Linked DNA regions of Homo sapiens: region 2 is linked to region 1. Evidence: promoter capture Hi-C in 16 types of primary human blood cells and fetal thymus (Javierre and others, 2016). All regions are on one chromosome and are shown on one strand. Each heading gives the region's core, a stretch centred on a gene start or on the middle of the fragment in contact. The rest is flanking DNA. Distances are from core to core; before and after follow the strand shown. Region 1 holds the start of R3HCC1L (R3H domain and coiled-coil containing 1 like). Region 2 overlaps COX15 (cytochrome c oxidase assembly factor COX15).

Evidence for each region. Contacts are between HindIII fragments. The CHiCAGO score rates a contact against its expected background, and 5 or more counts as called.
Region 2: a fragment that was not itself captured here is called in contact with the fragment with the promoter of R3HCC1L in region 1 in 1 of 17 cell types (total CD4 T cells); the score reaches 8.0 in total CD4 T cells.

The regions. Positions count from the first base shown.
Region 1 is chr10:98,133,361-98,136,029 of GRCh38, forward strand. R3HCC1L (R3H domain and coiled-coil containing 1 like) reads left to right here and starts at 1,297. Exons shown (of 10, transcript NM_001351015.2): 1 at 1,297-1,346. RefSeq lists enhancers at 1,724-2,513, 1,856-1,995. The HindIII fragment of the contact is 1,235 bases long and covers 877-2,111 here.
Region 2 is chr10:99,723,867-99,726,535 of GRCh38, forward strand. COX15 (cytochrome c oxidase assembly factor COX15) reads right to left here. Exons shown (of 9, transcript NM_078470.6): 5 at 90-257. Among named protein-coding and RNA genes, the nearest start is that of COX15, 6.9 kb to the right of the region's middle. The HindIII fragment of the contact is 6,673 bases long and covers 1-2,669 here.

The DNA.
Region 1 (2,669 bases), core at 47-2,546:
CAATCAATCACGACCCTTTCATGTGAAATCTTTAGTGTGGTGAGCCCTTAAAAGGGACAGAAATTGTGCACTCGGGGAGCTTGGATTTTAGGACAGTAGCTTGCCGATGCTCCCAGCTGAATAAAGCCCTTCGTTCTACAACTTGGTGTCTGAGAGGTTTTGTCTGCGGCTCGTCCTGCTACAATAGAATCTCCAAGATTTGGTGACCATTTGAATATTGGAGGAAGAGGAAGTGAGAAAGGAGGAATCAGGTTAAAGAGTGAATATTAATGAGTAGGGAGGAGGGGTAGTAGTTTACTTTTCTTTTTTTGGGGGACGGAGTCTCCCTGTGTTGCCCAGGCTGGAGTGCAGTGGTGCAATTTTGGCTTACTGCAACCTCCGCCTCCCGGGTTCAAGCGATTCTCCTTCAAGCAATTCTCCTGCCTCGGCCTCCTGGGTAGCTGGGATTACAGGTGCCCACCACCACGCACAGCTAATTTCTGTACTTTTAGTAGAGACAGGGTTTCACCATGTTGGTCAGGCTGGTCTCGAACTCCTGACCGCAGGTGATCCACCTGCCTTGGCCTCCCAAAGTGCTGGGATTACAGGCATGAGCCACTGTTCCTGGCCCCAGTAGTTCACTTTTCAAGGACACTGGAGATGCCTGTGGGCATGGATGAGGAGAGGTCTTGTCTAGGAAGTTGGGAATACAAACAATGAGCTCAGGTGAGAAGGGACTGGAGTGTCCCCTCTCCCACCCCAATTTTAAGAACTCTGGAAAACACCAATATTTTAGAGGTAAGTTAGAGGAAACAAAGTAGAATGAATTCAGAGAAGGAAAACCTGGATAGTGTCATAGAAAATAAGTGATAATGCCCAATAGCGTCAAATGACTAAAGCTTGAGTTAGATGAGTCCGGAAATACCTCCAATGAGTTTGGCAACAAGGACACTTATGACAACAAGGCATTTTCCATGGGGGCGGAAGCTGCGATGAGGAGTGAACACAGATGAGCAAGTAGAGACAGTGTAGATTATCTTTTTCAAAAAACTTGGCTGTGAACGGAGGAAGTGAGATGGTATAATTGAGTGGAATGTAAGGAGATTTGCGCACGTATATAGCCGAGAGGAATGAGGAAGGGTTGAAGGGACAGGAGCAGAAATGCTCTCCGGCACTCGCCATTTTGCCAGCTTCTCCCCTACGTGACCTGAACTCAGTGGGCGCGGCCGGGCCTCGCGGAAACTACAACCCCCAGAAGGCCCCACGGCGTTGGGGGCGGAGCCGAGGCCTGACGCGCGCCCCAGCGGCGCGAGCGGAAGAGATAGAGCTTCGCGGAGACGGCGGAAGCGGAGAGCAACAGCGCGCCGGTAACAACCAGCCCCGTATCCCCTCCCTCTGTACCTCAAGCTAGGATTTTTAATCCCCACTTCTCCCTTCACAGCCCGGGACAAGACTTCCATTCCGTCGTTTGTTGCTGGTATTTTTTTTCCTCATGTGACGCGAGGGGCCGCCCCCTGCCTGGGGCGGAGGTTACTGGGAAGCTCCCGCCTTCTGACCCCTGCGGGCCCGCGGTTGAGAGGGACCCTCCCGGGGCTCTTTTGCACTCACTGGGGCTCGTGCTCGCTTTGGGCGCTCGCCCCAAATGATCCTGGCGGAAAGGACGTGCTTTTTCTGGGTTTCAACAGGTATTGAGCGGGGTCCCTGGTTACCCCCTCGGGGCTGCGGGGCCGTGGGCCCCCAGGGCTGCCGGCGGTTTCCGGGCTTCGCTTCGAGCCTCGCCTTTGAGCCTCCTCCGCTGCCCGGGAGCCCCGGGCTACGGGCTGGGAGTGAGCAATCTATAAAGGAGCATGTACTTCCTGCTTTTTCTTGGCAGGCCTGCGAAAAACCCCAAGTCCGATCTTTAAAGTTTGTGAGTGCAGCCCCCTCTCAGTTGTGTACGGGAAGGAGCACAGGATTTGGAGTCTGATATCCTGGGGGAAGTCTCAGTCCGCCACTTGGCTGGACCTGTGATCTTTTGTACAGTAGTCTGTTTAGCGCAGCCTCGGTTTCGTTGTCTGAAAAGTGGGGTTAATGTTCTTTGCCCTGCGGCCTTCCAGGGTTGTGGGCTTCAGCAGAAGTGATATTCCTGCGAAAGCTTTGAACTCTAAAGTATGTTTCGGGTATAACCTTGCCATCCCCCAGTCTCCAGTCTAGGTCAGTTGAGTTTTAAAACCAGGTTCATGTCTATACGAAGATCAAATTAGTTAATAAATAGGGGGAAAGTGTCTTTGGAAACGAATCTGAACCATACAGATGTTTTTATGCCAGGTTCCTAGTGAAGAGGTGACCTTAGGGCGTTACCACCTGTGGAGTCAATTTAAAACTTCATCTGGATTTTAAGGCCCACCAGAATTTAGACTCTTCTTCCTCAGCACACACAACTATCTCTTGCTGTTATAACCTTCCTTCAGTATCACACAGGTACAAGCATAAAGCAGTAAACGTTCCTCAGATATGGTTGTACTACAACTAATACCTGTCCCCAGCAGGTCTTGTGTCTTGTGTCACAGTTGAAATTCAGAATATAAATAGCCAAATATCCCATCTGTTTAATTTTTTTTGACATTAAGCTTTGAGACTAAGCAAGTTGCTTATTGTCTTATTTTTCCCCTTACAGAGAATGCTAATTCTGCAATCAGTTTTTTTTTTTT
Region 2 (2,669 bases), core at 69-2,568, 1.6 Mb after region 1:
TATATGATCCAGCAATTCTACTTCTAGATATATATCCAAAAGAACCAAAAGCGGGGTCTTGAACACAGATATTTGCACACAACTCTTACCTTGTGCGGAGGGAGTAGCAGTGACAGTGAGGTCCACAAGCTGGCACAATAAAGAACCAGGGCTGATCCCAGGTGGGCAGCAAGGCGGTACTGACTGACCCGAGGGATGTCATGGGAGTCTGATTTTTCTTCTAGTCCACTTTTCACCATATACCATCCCAACAGACCCTAGAACCCCCAAGAGATGAAGCAAACAAAACAAGGTTAAAATGATCTGTTCAACTTTCTTTTTTTTGTTGTTTTTTTGAGACAGAGTCTCACTCTGTCACCAGGCTGGAGTGCAGTGGCGGGATCTTGGCTCACTGCAATCTCCGCCTCCCAGGTTCAAGTGATTCTCCTGCCTCAGCCTCCCAAGTGGCTGGGACTACAGTTGCGCATCACCACGCCTGGCTAATTTTTGTATTTTTAGTAGAGATGGGGTTTCACCATGTTGGCCAGATGGTGTCAATCTCTTGACCTCGTGATCCGCCCACCTCAGCCTACCAAAGTGCTGGTATTACAGGCGTAAGCCACCACACCCGGCCTGATCTGTTCAACTTTACTGAGGAAATGAGCTATCAGGAGTACTCTCTACCCCACCCCTCCTCTTTCCATACCCTCCCCAATACGCAGTGTCCCAAGATTCATGATTTATCCACAGTTCTTCACATATCACCATTAATACTTAACTACTATTTAGATCAGAAGTGTCTGATCTTTTGGCTTCCCTGGGCCACACTGGAAGAATTGTCTTGGGCCATGCATAAAATACACTAACACTAACAGTAGCTGATGAGCTTTAAAAAAAAAAAAAGGTCCATGGATATATCTCATAAAACTAGATTGAATGTTTTGGAGAAACTTAATAAAGGTAAATGCTTAAAAACATCTACTGTCAAGTTAGGTTGGAATAAGACAATTATAAAAGTTTCAGGGGAAAATCATAAAAATCAATAAGGTTTTGCATGCAGATCGCTTTGCAAATATCTAAGTTCCCACTCCGCTTTAAGCAAAACCACAGTTTATGGGGATATAAGAAACCTGCAGTTGAATGCCAATCTGGGGACGCATAGTCAAAGAAAAGGCCTTGATTTTGTAAAAGTTGGTAATGAACGTACAGATTTAAGTTTAAAAGTTTATGTTATGTATCATATTCTATGATTCTCTGCTTTAACTGGCTTTTTCAATTAACCAAACAATTGTTAGTTCCAATCATATGAAATAAGACAGCCCTTTCACTCCCACTTGCCAGTAGAATCAGGTCAAAGAGGTGGACTCTGCCACTTCTAAATATATACTCTTCAGGAAATCTTTTTGGGCATTTCTCTCCCCTTTCAAGATTACCCTGGATATTCTAATTACCTTGATTTCATCTGCAAGAGACATTGAAAGATGAAGACGTACACAGTTGATTCACTAGCCCACTTTCTTCTCCCATACCTTATCTGACATCTTTAATTTCTGCCTCCCTAATAGTGTTTTCAGTGTTGGCTTGTTTTTCTAATTCTAAAATGTTAACTTTCATTTTGTTCTACATGCCTTTCTCTGGTTACTATTAGACTTTGATTATTGTTTCTGCTGCCTCTATTTCTTCTCTCTCATCTCCCTCCTTAATCCCTTCTTTCTTTATTTATTTTTTTTGAGCCAGAGTCTTGCTCTGTTGCCCAGGCTGGAGTGCAGTGGTGCAACCTCTCAGCTCGCTGCAACCTCCGCCTCCCCGGTTCAATCAATTCTTCTGCCTCAGCCTCCGAAATAGCTGGGACTACAGGCCCACGCCAGCATGCCCAGCTAATTTTGGTATTTTAGGTAGAGACAGGGTTTTACCATGTTGGCCAGGCTGGTCTGGAACTCCTGATCCCCCACCTTGGCTTCCGAAAGTGTTGGGATTACAGGTGTGAGCCACTGCACCCGGCCTTAATCCCTTCTAACTGACTCATTTTCTTACCACTTCTGAGTTAAATTAACCAATTAGCTTCCTCCTGATTAAATTTTGATGTTTCTTTGATGCCCTGATAATCTCCTTTAGGATCTCTAAACCTTGACCCAAATACTCCTATGTGTCTTCTCTTTTAATTTGTTGCTCAGTTTCACCCAACTTTTTTTTTTTCATCATTCTAGCAGTACTAACCTGTTAACTGTGGGAGTCTTTCCTTAAGAGGCGCTCAACTTACGTGATTTTAATTGCCATTTATATCTGAATATCTCTCAGCTACATGGGTATTCTACAATCCTTCATCCCACAAAGTGTTTCTCTCTTTTGGAATTTTCCTGTATGCTTCTGTGGCATTCTAGCACAGGGATCCCTCTTTCCTATAGCAGACAAGTTAGAAAAAGAGGAGAGACAAGAACCTAGGGAGACACCCATGATGGGAAACAAACTACATCTTGCAGCACATGAAAATATACTACTGAGTGCTTTACTGATTCCAGGCACTAAGCTAAGTACTTTAAATATGGATTATCTCATTTAATATTTACACGACTGTACATGGTGGCACTGTTATTATCCCCATTTACAGGTAAAGAAATCATAGCTTTCAGAGGTTAGGTAATTTACCCTAAGTGTCAGAGCTGGGGCTTGAAGCTAGGCCTGTGACACTA